3 separate regions of the Homo sapiens genome follow, and all the other regions are linked to region 2. The links are contacts of gene promoters, found by promoter capture Hi-C in blood cells and fetal thymus (Javierre and others, 2016). All regions are on one chromosome and are shown on one strand. Each heading gives the region's core, a stretch centred on a gene start or on the middle of the fragment in contact. The rest is flanking DNA. Distances are from core to core; before and after follow the strand shown.

Region 1 (4,452 bases), core at 1,016-3,515, 890 kb before region 2:
TCAATGTGCAATGCCAATGGGTTCCACGCAGAAACCACAAGAGGTACCACTCTCTTTGCCAGCCTTGTCTGGAGGCAGCTTTTTGGGCACCTTATTGATCAGTCTTGCTCTTTGAAATGAGCAGACTAATGTTTGACAGGACAAACCCATAGAAAAAGCCAGAAGCTCTTCTCCCTGTCGATAAATTTAAATAACTCCAAAGCTAAAATGATTCCAGTTGTTTGATGCAAATACGCATTTTATTTTGGAGTCACTTGAAAATATGTGCCAGCTGAACTAGCTTAGCTCTTGTTTAAAGTCCACCAGGTCTGTTGGGCTGTCATTTCTCTAGCGGCTTTGCAGTGTTGTGATGGTCCCTTGGAGAAAGCACTGCAGCCTCAGAGCCCTGGCACTACCAGTCCACCACCCTTCTCTTTCCCTTCTATAATGAAGGCATAACACAGCAAAATTTCAGGGCAGTTGCCTGAATGGACAAAAGATTATTTACTGAAAAATAGATAGTACTCAAGCAACAAATAGTTTTAGAGTACTTTTGAGTAACGCATTGTGCTAAGTGCTACAAATATATGAATTAGTATGAGACAGCCCTTACTGTCAAAAGCTCACCACTTAGGCGAAGGAGGTGATCAGATATCAACTACATACAAGAATACCTTTATTATTCCCATGAATTTTTGCATAATCTATTTCTGCTTTGTCACCTTAAGCCTAGATTTTTGTATTTGCCGTAAACCTGTGTCTATTTGGGAATTAGAGAAGTCAGTTTAAACTTATGAGAGAAAGAATTAAACTTTTTATTCTGTTAGTAGCCTAATTCCTCCTTAAAGGAGATCCATATTCTAAACTCTACAGTTAAAAATGGTTAAGATGGCAAGTTTTATGTCATGTGTATTTTCCCACAATTAAAAACTAAGAAAGAGACATCCCACCATTTAGCTGGGCAGAATCTGTGAGTCTAAGCTTGGCCAGATTCTCGTAACTGTTATCTGTTTTCAACAAAAACTGTTTCTCGACTAGTGCATGTAAATAAAGCCTCCTTCAGAGCATCCACAGAGTGGAAGAAGGAGATCCAAGAATACATGTGTAACAGGTATCTCATTGTTGTGGCTTCTCTGATCTTTTGTTCTCATGTCTAGAACAATCTGAAAATTCATTTTGTTGGTTGGCTAATGGTAGAATCCATTTGTCCTGACTTTCTGGTCACCGTGTCCCTTACAGAATCTAAAAGACACTGCTGGCACCCTTGCCAGTGAGGTGGAGGGTAGGGTATTTTCTTTCTTGCTATTTCATGTGGATGCTCAGAAATTATAAAAACTAAAACTGATGGCAATTTCACTTCCTTAGCACAGAATTGGGGAAAAGACAGCTCACACATTAGTAACTCTGTGCTTATGTTTTGAACCTTTACCAGGAATGTGGAGGCAATATATCTTGGTTCAACTTTTGTCTTTCCATTAGTAATATTATCATAATAAAGCTTCCTTGACACAGTACCTATTTCCAAGCTGTTTTGTACGTTTTATGATGGACATCTGGGTTAAAGTAACTTTTTTTGCACTCCTTCTGCACTTCAGCTGGTTGGTGGGGCAATGTGTAAAGTGCTAAAGTAACAGCAACTCAGGAACTCAAAAGGCACAGCCACCTTGCTCCCAGGATGCTACCAGCTGGGGGGTGCTGACTGTCCAGGGGCCTCCCCAGGTACTATTTATTAGTTATGTCTCTTGAAAAATAACCTAAGATTTATAACGGTCTTTTCTGAATTTTTGAATTTCCTACTACAAAACATTGGTGAGTTGGGTGCAATTCCCCCCAAGAATTGAGTAAGACTTCCTTTATTTTCAGTGGGGGAGAGGAGAGCTCGTCTTAATTTATATATTTCTGGTATTTGCACTTCAGATACAAAATTTTGATGCATGTCTACAATACAAGCTCCATGAGATAGGAACTGTTGATTCTCCAGCCTTGGGCAGTCACAGAATACCTGTTGTTGACTAGCTGAGTAAAAGGTTATGACTGCAAAATAGAAAGCTGCGCCACACAGGCTAGGCAGGATTTTTTGCTTCACTGCAGTGAGTGAGGTGCTCTCAGAGCACTGTGGCTCAGGCCTTCCACCAGAGGGAGCAGGGATGCCACCCCACTGCAGAGGACACTTGTGCAGAACCCTGGGAAGTGCCTGAAGAGGAAAAACAAAAATCCCCAAGCACAGCAAAAAAGAATTGGCATCAAAATGAATGTGAAGAAGAAGAAATCGTGGGGTCATTATACTCAGTGACATGGCTAGATAAAGCCAAAACAGACCTTTCTTTTCCTGCTGCTTAAATGTCCTAAGGCTTCTTAGGCAGAGAAGCCCCATGCCCTAGGAGCAACATCTTCTAGAGCTGCTTGTCTCCTGGTTACCAATGTGGAGTCAGTCCAAGCACAATGCACCTCATCTTAAAAGCAGAAAGGAGAGTGGCCACGGCCAAACCTCTCTAGAGTTCCCCTCTGCAATGCTCTGAAACAGTTCTATTTGTGTCTCTGACTCCGGGGAAAAGATCAGCTATATGGGTTGTTTGGGGCCTGGCACAAGTGGCTATGATGACTTCATTCCAAACTGGGCTGAGAGTCCACCTAAGGACAAATAATTCTCCACAAAACCACCATCAAATCACACAAGGCAAAAAGAGTTTAATATTCAAGGTCTCCACTTTCCTCTCCAGGCAAACTTAAGCCTAAAAAGGGAAACAGCTTGAAGCACTGGGCATCAGAATACATCGCTAGTTTAAAAGCAGATTGTTAGCCCTTTCCAAGTCCCTCAGCATGTCAACTGGAAGAGAAGGCTCTGCAGAGGACAGCAATGTGAAGTGAAATCCTAAAGCACCAGTCCTCTTCCTGGATCTCCATCCATTGATCGTGTCAAACACAAGGTTGATTTTAAAGCCCTGTATCATGTAAAAGGGAAGATAATCCAAGAGAATATCTATCTAAGACACATCAAGATTTTTTTTTTTTTAAAAGAACCTGTCTTAAACTAAAGAGGCAAGACTTGAGTTTCATTTAGCTAATGAAGCTTTGGAAAGTAAATTATCCTTCCAGGGATGCTGAAACAAGCAACGACAACAAAAGACACTCTCCATTTGTCTAGTGGTTCCACCCTATCAGGCTCTAGATGGAACCCACCAGTCCACAGATTGCCAATTTAGGACATTCCTGAGAGCCTATTGATGGGACAGAACTGCTGAATAGTCATAAATCAGAACATTCCAAGGAGTGAATGGGATAATACTGCAGGTTTATTTTAAGGTAAGGATCATAGCAAACAGGAAATTATATATAATTCCAGAGAGAAACAAAGTCAACAAATTCAAATGAACAATGGCAAGTTCCTATAGGGCAGGACATTGCTTATTTCTTTACATTGCCCAGTGCATCTGGCCCAGTCTATGGCGCTAGGGACTTACTGATCATCTAATTTGCAAAAAAACCTCACAACCACCCCCCAAAATAATCTATGGGTTTATCTAAAAAGAAAGCAGAGGTTTAGACCCTTTCTACTAGGTCAGAGGATAACAATTTTAGATACAGAAAAGATATGAAACACGGTAGCTAATTGGACTCATGCAGACTTTATTTTATTTAATTTTTTTGAGACGGAGTCTTGGTCTGTCCCCCAGGCTGGAATGCAGTGTGGTGCGATATCGGCTCACTGCAACCTCTGTCTCCTGGGTTCAAGCAATTCTCCTGCCTCAGTCTCCTGAGTAGCTGGGATTACAGGTGCACACCCCCATGCCTGTCTAATTTTTGTATTTTTAGTAGAGACGGGGTTTCACCATGTTGGCCAGGCTGGTCTGGAACTCCTGACCTCAAATGATCCACTTGTCTCGGCCTCCCAAAGTGCTGGGATTACGGGTGTGAGACACCACACCTGGCTGGACTCATGGAGACTTTAAAAGGCTTTCCAAAAGTTGGGGGATTCCACTTCTCCAGGCAGAAAGACCTTCATGAAACTAATATGTACTTAAAAAAAATCCACATAGAAGAGGCAGAGAATGTGTTAACAGGGTGGGGAACAGAGAAGGCTGGCCACGTTCAGCAAGACCAATGAAGACACTCTCATAATGTTTGCTGTGGAGAGATCTTTCTCTACATAATGGTGAACAATGAGCCCTGTCCAGTTTTTTCTTATTTTTCATTATAGGAAACCTTAAGTATCACAATTCTTCAAGCATGCAATGGGAATGGGAAACACGGTGGCACGGTGACTTCATGACAATGGTAAATCAAGTGTTCTGTCTGGCAGGAAAACTGTCATTAGCCTGGGAAGTCATCTAGCTGATGTCATTTTTGAAACAGAGGTAATATGTCTATTCAAATTTATGAGGAAAACAATCAATTTTATTTTCTGCCATCTACTTTTAGAGGTCAGAAGGAAAATATTTATTGTGCCTTTTAAAGGAAATAACATTCATTAGA
Region 2 (4,109 bases), core at 49-2,548:
AATGAGTGAGTTCTCGCTCTATTAGTCAATGGGCGAGCTGGTTGTTAAAAAAAGCCTGGCACCTCCTCTCCTCTCTCTTGCTCCCTCACTTGCCCTGTGAGTTGCCTGCTTGCTCGCCCTTCGCCTTCCACCATGAGTGGAAGGTCCCTGAGGCCTCAACAGAAGCAGATGCTGGTGCCATGCTTCTTGTACAGCCTGCAGAACCAAATAAACCTCTTTTCTTTATAAAATACCAGTCTCAGTATTCCTTTGTGGCAATGCAAAATGGAATAACACACCCCCACTTTCTCCTGCTCAGCCACTTCTTGTATTTAGAGTGCTAAAGTCTTTTGCACAAAATTTTCTCAGTGTACCCTCCACAAAATAGGCCAGATTGGAAACCCCATACAAGATCCCTGATGCATCCGTTACCTAGCACAAGCCCTGACAAGCACGAAACAAAACCTGGTTTAGCGAATGGAGGGATGAATCCTGTTAGATAGCGATGGTCATCCTCATTTCACAGACGACGATACGGAGGGCCAGAGGGTGGAGCTGGTTAGTGCGTGGTAAAATTCCTCAAAATCAACTCGTCAGTGCATGCAAGCAGTATGTATGATCGGGATTCAAATCCCAACTATGCTGCTTCGGAAACTGAACGTCTGGGCTCATTTTTTTTTTTTTTTCTCCTAGCCACTAGACCACCAGGGACTGGGTTCATCCAGTCTTTGGTAAAAAAGGGGCTAAAATTTGCCTTGTAATTACATTAGATATGGTGGCCAATGCTCCTGGCATACAAGATTAGCTAACATTTACTGAGTGTCTACGCCGCGCCAGGTACTGTGTAACATAGGCGAGTTTAACACTGCTGAGTTTCACAGCAACCCTGTGGTCTACACCAAGGGACTCCTAGGGGCAGAGACGTTTCTTCGAGTCGCAGAACCGGGTGTGGGCCCCGCACCCAGACGTGGGCCATCGCCCTCCGCAGTCGGCTCCGTTAACCATCAAGCTCCCCCACCCCTCCAGGGCTGGGGACACTCCAGCCCCCATCAGGATGCTGGAGGCCGTCCGAAGCCCCACGAAGCCGACCAGCGCGCGTCGCCCCAGCAGCCCCCGCGCCCCTCCCGGGCCCGACGTCAGCACGCCCGCCGGCCCCGCCCCGGTGACGTTCCGGGGCCCGGCGCCCACCGCCCGCCGCTGTACCTGTGTGCACACCCTACCTGTACAATCGGTGGCTCGCGCTGAAGGAGATGCGGCGGGACACTTGTGCCTGGCAGCGACGGCCACCACCTTCCGTGCTCATCTTCCCGGCGCTGTCTGCGGTGCTCGGCCGGCACCTCCTCCCGCCGCGCGGCCGGTGCCTCCTCCCACCGCGGCTGCGCAGTGCGTGCCAGACGCGCCCCTAGGAAGTGCGTCTCCGCTTCCGCTCTGGCCAATCCCGGCCTCGGGAGACAGTTAAGGGTGTCTCTCGCTATCTGAATCTCTTCGGAGAGCAAGATTTGGGATACCTAAGCATACCCTGGAGTGGTCAGGGTGGGTGGGGACCCTGTGTCCTTGATCTGTTTGCCCCGCCTGAGGTCACGCCACGTAGTTAGGGCCCGTCTGGGCACACTTTGGGTCCTGAGTGACCTCTCTGAGCCTCCTCTCCCACTCTCTCCTGTAAAGCTCCAGTGACTGGTGACTCAATCGGATGAACCCCAGGGCCACAGTCCGCTTTATAGACCAAAAGGAGCAGGAATTGAGCCAGGCGGGCGTGGTGACGCACTCCTGTAGCCCCAGCTATTGAGAAGGAGAGGGATCACTTCAGCCCAGGAGTCCAACCTGGGCAATAGAGCAAGACCCTCGTTTCTCTTTTTCTTTTTTCTTTTTAATTATTATTATACTTTAAGTTCTAGGGTACATGTGCACAACGTGCAGGTTTGTTACATAGGTATTCATGTGTTATGTTGGTTTGCTGCACCCATCAACTCGTCATTTACATTAGGTATTTCTCCTAATGCTATCCCTCCCCCAGCCCCCTACTCCCTGACAGGCACCGGTGTGTGATGTTCCCCACCCTGTGTCCATGTGTTCTCATTGTTTGATTCCCACCTATGGGTGAGAACATGCAGTGTTTGGTTTTCTGTCCTTGTGATAGTTTGCTGAGAATGATGGTTTCCAGCTTCATCCATGTCCCTGCAAAGGACATGAATTCATCGTTTTTATGGCTGCATAATATTCCATGGTGTACATGTGCCACATTTTCTTAATCCAGTCTATCATTAATGGACATTTGGGTTGGTTCCAAGTCTTTGCAATTGTGAATAGTGCCACAATAAACATACAGGTGCATGTGTCTTTAAAGTAGCATGATTTATAATCCTTTGGGTATATACCCAGTAATGGGATGGCTGGGTCAAATGATATTTCTAGTTCTAGATCCTTGAGGAATCGTCACACTGTCTTCCACAATGGTTGAACTCATTTACACTCCCACCAACAGTGTAAAAGCATTCCTATTTCTCCACATCCTCTCCAACATCTGTTGTTTCCCAACTTTTTAATGATCGCCATTCTAACTGGTGTGAAATGGTATCTCATTGTGGTTTTGATTGGCATTTCTCTGATGGCCAGTGATGATGAGCATTTTTTCATGTGTCTGTTGGCTGCAGAAATGTCTTCTTTTGAGAAGTGTCTGTTCATATGCTTTGCCCACTTTTTGATGGGGTTGTTTGATTTTTTTTCTTATAAATTTGTTTAAGTTCTTTGTAGATTCTGGATATTAGCCCTTTGTCAGATGGGTAGATTGCAAAAATTTTCTCCCATTCTGTAGGTTGCCTGTTCACTCTGATGGTAGATTCTTTTGCCGTACAGAAGCTCTTTAGTTTAATTAGATCCCTTTTGTCTATTTTGGCTTTTGTTGCCATTGCTTTTGGTGTTGTAGTCATGAAGTCCTTGCCCATGCCTATGTCCTGAATGGCATTGCCTAGGCTTTCTTCTAGGGTTTTTATGGTTTTCGGTCTGATATTTAAGTCTTTAATCCATCTTGAGTTAATTTTTGTGTAAGGTGTAAGGAAGGGATCCAGTTTCAGCTTTCTACATATGGCTAGCCAGTTTTCCCAGCACCATTTATTTAATAGGGAATCCTTTCCCCATTTCTTGTTTTTATCAGGTTTGTCTAAGATCAGATGGTTGTAGATGTGTGGTGTTATTTCTGAGGCCTCTGTTGTGTTCCATTGGTGTATATATCTGTTTTGGTACCCATACCATGCTGTTTTTGTTACTGTAGGCTTGTAGTATAGTTCGAAGTCAGGTAGCGTGATGCCTCCAGCTTTGTTCTTTTTGCTTAGGATTAATACCGTTTCTTTAAAAAAAAATTTTTAAAGAGCAAGAATTTGAGAGCACAAATAGGACCACGTGACAACAGTCCTTTGGACTGTTGTGTAATGATCCTTACTAAGGGAAATTCTAAAGCCATTCTTATCCACAAGCATGTATGGACCCATTTATTACTCTGGGTTGGCATAGTGTGAATACAGACACCCCTAAACACATATTAGCAATTCTTCTGCCAGTGTAGACACATTGAGAGTGAAAGGATCTTGTTTCCTCACATCTACTCACAAGAGTAACCAAACTACACACAGTTCCCAGAATCATGTCACCTCTTGCTTCCATTCACTCTTTCACTAAATATTTATTGGGCATCTACTATGTGGCTGGCATTGTTCCAGGTACTGGAGAGGACAGCTCCACTCTATATGAGAAAAATCATCACTGTATATGATGAAAAGCAGGACAAGTCACTGATTAATAACAGGCTTGGAAAAGTTTCCTGTAAAAAGAAAGATAAAATCATGGGGGCGATAGAAATAAGCTCAAATGGTGATTTCCCTCAAATATCTCCTATTTACAGCTATATATTCTGTTTGTTCTGCATTAAACTACTAACAGGTTATTTAGCAAACACTCTCCATACATTTTCAGATGTTTGTCTCATCTACCCCATTGTACTGTAAAGAAAAAACTTCAAATAACATTTAGAGATTTTCGAGATAGAGACTGTTTAGTTCAATACTTTCACTTTACAGATAAGAAAATACAGCCACAGATAAGTGAATTACTATTGCGAGATCACTCAGAACAGAAAC
Region 3 (4,570 bases), core at 2-2,501, 570 kb before region 2:
TTCTTTTGTCTGCCCTTGAGTTTCTTGGATTAGCCTGCCTCTGCTCAAGGCTGGAGCATGGTTTTCACAGGGTGCTTCCTGGGTTGACTTCAGGATTTAGGAGGTCAGGGGATGGGGTGCTTTATCTCTGCATCCTCAACTACAATATTCACCTCCACCAGAGAGCAGAGAAGTAGATGGTCCAAGCTTTGCACCAGACTAGAAAGAATACTCCCCGGGAGAGTTCCCAGCCCCCAGAGGTCAACCATTAATCACCTTCTGGAAGCCTGTTGCAGGGTTTGTGATGGAAATGACTCTGTCGTCATGGTAACTCTGCCTGGCCTGGCCAGGGGCTGCTCCAGCCTAACTGGCTCTTCTGGGTTTCAGGTTTATTTACAAGCTGTGACTCCTGCCTGGTAGGTCTTCAGAGCAGCTTCTTGCCATCTGGAACCTGAGGGAAAGGCTGGGGATGACATAGGCCTAAACCAGTCCTTGTTCAAAATGATGGTTTCAAACCTGGTTCTCCCATTCAAGAAAGATGAGACCTTTCACCGTAGTGCTAACATGTCTTGCCTGTTGACTGGACGTGTCCCAGAGGGACAGAATTGTATATCTGGACTTTGAAGTGGAAACACCTAGGGTCTGAGCAAGGGCTCTGCCTCTTACCAGTTGTCCATCTTTGGGCAAGTTACTAAAACACTGATCTTCAGATTCTCCCCCTCTAAGAGAAGTCCTCATACCAAGTTCACAGTGTAATTGTTAGAATTAAATAAGATAACTACATAATGCAGGAATGGCACACTTTTTCTGTAAAGGCCCAGGCAGTAAATATTTTAGGCTTTGCAGGCCACGCGGTCTCTGTCTCAACTACTCAACTCTGCCCTCATAGCATGAAAGCAGCCCGGATCAAGAGTAAACTAAACAGTGCAGCAGAGTTCCAGTAAAACTCAGGTGGCCCTTGCTGGGCAGTCTGGGCTGACCACGCATTCTAAGCAGGAGCTACATCTGAATGAATAATATGCATCGCTGGCCACCGCGGAGAAGAGGCACCAGTGAGGGCAGCAGTGTGGTGACACAGCCGAGGGCAGGGTGAGAAGTTCAGGCTGGCTTCAGAGCCCCAGTTCTGACAGGCTCTGCACGGCCGCTCACATCTCCGGGGAAAGCCACAGTGTGCCAACAGCCCAGCGACCTGCTATACTGAGCTGTGATTTATTAATGCTCTCACACAGGGCCTCTCTCCAAGAGGTTTGCTGGGGTTGAGGGAAGAATATGGGATCCCTAATTCATTCAGAACACTCTGATTTATACCAGCTCCTGGCAGCGGCGTTTTCCAAGACCCCTCAAGAGTGAAGGGGATTTAGAACTCTGTTTTCCATTCTGTGTTCACTGGTTCCAAACAACTAGCGGGTTAGAGATAGACCAAACTGGTTCTGCCTGAAAGACTCTCAGCCCTGCCGAGGGGTAAGCAGGTGTTACCCATCAGTCCAACTCCCTCCTAAGACAAGAGGTCAGGTCCTCGGAGCCAGCAGGCTGCGGGCTGAGTACATCTGTCAGTTCGGAGGGGTGGCTCACAGCAGGTCAGCTGGGGGGTGGCCTGTTTCAGAACTCAGGCCAGTGATCTCTTTGGGGGCTGGCAGTTGACTGGCAGCAGGTCTGCGCTGGTCAGGAGGATCATGAGGGAGGTGGGGTTTGGTGCTGGAATGGATGAGTCTGGGACTTTTCAAGTCCATGGTCACAGTGTGACCACAAGAAAGAGCTTTTCCCTCCTGGGCCTCAGTTTACCTCTCTGTAAAACAGGGTCCTCTCTTCTGTCCTCTCAGCCCTCCGTGAGTAGGTGGGTTGTGGTGAAGCCTGGCTGATGGTAACTGTGGGAACAGGTGGTGCACGACTCCAAGAGGGTTCTATTTATGCGGTTTATTCTGATGACACTGTGTTTTCTCCCGACAAGCTCGGGTGCTGAGCAGCTGTTCTTTCGCTGTCACCCCTGTGGCGTCGCTGTGAGGGGGAGTATTTCTACTTCTCACTGACAGTTTTCCTTGCCATGGAGGCTTTATTCAGCTCCTTAATACCAATGCTTTACATGTGGATGCAACTTCACAGTTTACAAAGCAATTTCAGAGACATCTTCTGATTTTATCTCCATAACAACCCATTCAGGTTGGCGTGGCCGACGGGTCTATCCTGAATTAGAGATGAGGAAACCGCCTGTCAGGTTAGGTGTTTCAACCCTGTGCTGGGTTCCCACCACCGGTAGGTGGCAGGGCTGAGACTGAGACATACACTTACCCCGCCACATTAAAACTTCTCAGGAAAACTGCTGCCTTTTAAGAAGCTTTTGTTCTGGCTGGCAATGGTGGCTCATGCCTGTAATCCCAGCAATTTGGGAGGCCAAGGTTGGGGGATCACTTGAGGTCAAGAGTTTGAGACCAGCCTGGCCAACATGGCAATATCCTGCCTCTACTAAAAATACAAAAATTAGCCAGGCGTGGTGGCAGGTGCTTGTAATCCCAGCTACTTGGGAGGCTGAGGCAGGAGAATTCTTGAGCCTGGGAGGTGTACGTTGCGGCGAGCCAAGATTGTGCCACTGCACTCTACCTGGGTGATACAGTGAGACTCCGTCTCAAAAAAAAAAAAAAAAAAAAAGAAGAAGAAAAAAAAGCATTTGTTCCAGTGTACTTTTATTACATTAATGTAATAAAAGTATCAAGGAACAGTTTGTTTTGGAGGGGCAGTGGGAAGGAATTTTTAAAAATAGTATAATGAAGAGGGCTTTTATTCTGTAAAGCTGCCTTCTGTCCTCAGTGCTGAACTTCCTGTCATCATCACCAAAATAAATTCCACTTTCAAATGTGACTTTTCCCCCAGGCCTTCCAAAAACTCAAGCCAGACAGGTTTGAGGGAGAGTGTGAGCTATTTTTACTACTGTCTGGGGTTCTCCCTATTCATTGTTGGAGGGGGAAAAAAAGACAGTTGAAAATCCCCAAGAATTTTCTCTGGCTGTGAATTTGCACCCAGCTGTCTCCACACACCCACACCCGGCAGCATGCGGCTGTTGGACACTGCTGGCCCTGAGTTCAACATCATTTTCATCTTTGACAGGCTTGCTCAGCCACCATCTCTGAATTATAGTAGTAGTCATAACCCAACAATGCTCTGGGCAGGTCCTTGGTACCCAAGGCCAAAGACTTTCCAGTCTTTGGAAACCAGTCATAACCTTCTATGGCCAGATGTGAAGGAATGGAGTCCTGACCTCACAGTCCCAGTTTCTAAAGTGATCCATTCTCTGAATTCCTACACCCAGAAATGCTCTGGCTTTGCACCCTTGGGTCCTCTGCCTTTCCAAGGTCCCACCTGACTGGTGGCCAAAATTGTGAGCCATTGATGTAAACAATAAAAATGATAGTAGAACAAACCCATTAGGCTGAGCCAAGTCACCCTGACCAGAAAAAAAAAAAGCCACATCTGAAGAAAGTGAAGACAAACAGGAAATCTTTGCAAATAGTCACTCTTATCTCCACTCACCTCATATCCCTGCCCTTCCTCACTATCCCTTTCCCCTTTCATCTTTCCTTCCTTCTTCCCCTTTCTCCTATAATACCTGTGTTTCCTCACTAAACCGATTGTCTATGCCACAATCCCTGAAAAATATTCCCATCTATAACCCGTGAGGTTTGTGTCCATTTCAACTCTAGGTTCAATTCTGTTAAAGTGAACAGTGAATTCCAAGAAACTGTCTAAATAATTTCATTGTGTTGGAAGTTTTTGTAACAAATTTGCAAGAAAAAAAATGACCGAATCTTGGATATGGATATCCTGGAGGCTACAAAAGTGTTTTTACTGTAAGGATGTTTGAAATAACATTGTGTTAAAGGGATATTGGGGTTATGTCATTGCCTCTGACCTAGAGAGTTTCACCTGCTACCTCCATCAGACTCCTTCCAAGACCTCACAGATGCCTGGATTTGGTAGCTGGCCAGGTATTCTTCATAGCTGTATGATCCCCTGGATTGAGTCATCCACCAAGTATCCTTTTGAGGACTTCCAGTGGGATTAGCATCTGGCTGGGTGCTGTGAAGAATTTCCCAAACATAAGATAGAATTGCTCTCCTCATGGTGCTTACAATCTAGATGAGGGAGGTACATCTCGTATGCAACAGCTAAATTGAATAGCAGAAGGCAGTACCTAGTTAAGTGCTAGGCTATGTGGACTACAAATGCCATCCTCATTCTGTCTGTAATGTGAGCCTATTCTAGGCACAGGGGAAGACTAAGTCTGCCTTCTGCTCCATTCCAGCCCTCCCAATGCCTCAGAGTCCTTTGTATATATTGTACGAGCTCCGCTGTAGAACTTACTACATTGTGTTGTATGTTCGTTATGTTTATTTTATTTTATTATTTTATTTTATTTTTTATTTTTTGAGATGGAGTCTCACTCTGTCACCCAGGCTGGAGTGCAATGGGACGATCTTGGCTCACTGCAAACTCTGCCTCCCGAATTCAAGCAATTCTCCTGCCTCGGCCTCCTGAGTAGCTGGGACTACAGGCACATGCCACCATGCCCAGCTAATTATTTGTATTTTTAGTACAGACG

The links. The method cuts DNA at HindIII sites, captures the fragments that hold promoters and counts their contacts. A CHiCAGO score of 5 or more calls a contact.
Region 1: a fragment that was not itself captured here is called in contact with the fragment with the promoter of PTS in region 2 in 1 of 17 cell types (non-activated CD4 T cells); the score reaches 5.4 in non-activated CD4 T cells.
Region 3: a fragment that was not itself captured here is called in contact with the fragment with the promoter of PTS in region 2 in 3 of 17 cell types (fetal thymus, non-activated CD4 T cells and total CD8 T cells); the score reaches 8.2 in fetal thymus.

Annotation. Positions count from the first base shown.
Region 1 is chr11:113,112,308-113,116,759 of GRCh38, reverse strand. The region is part of intron 1 of NCAM1 (neural cell adhesion molecule 1); the gene reads right to left. Among named protein-coding and RNA genes, the nearest start is that of NCAM1-AS2, 150 kb to the right of the region's middle. The HindIII fragment of the contact is 1,572 bases long and covers 1,480-3,051 here.
Region 2 is chr11:112,223,617-112,227,725 of GRCh38, reverse strand. PTS (6-pyruvoyltetrahydropterin synthase) reads right to left here and starts at 1,298. Exons shown (of 6, transcript NM_000317.3): 1 at 1,200-1,298. The coding sequence starts at 1,282. RefSeq lists silencers at 366-660, 1,018-1,427. The HindIII fragment of the contact is 9,611 bases long and covers 1-4,109 here.
Region 3 is chr11:112,793,032-112,797,601 of GRCh38, reverse strand. No RefSeq gene overlaps it. Among named protein-coding and RNA genes, the nearest start is that of NCAM1, 170 kb to the left of the region's middle. The HindIII fragment of the contact is 2,125 bases long and covers 189-2,313 here.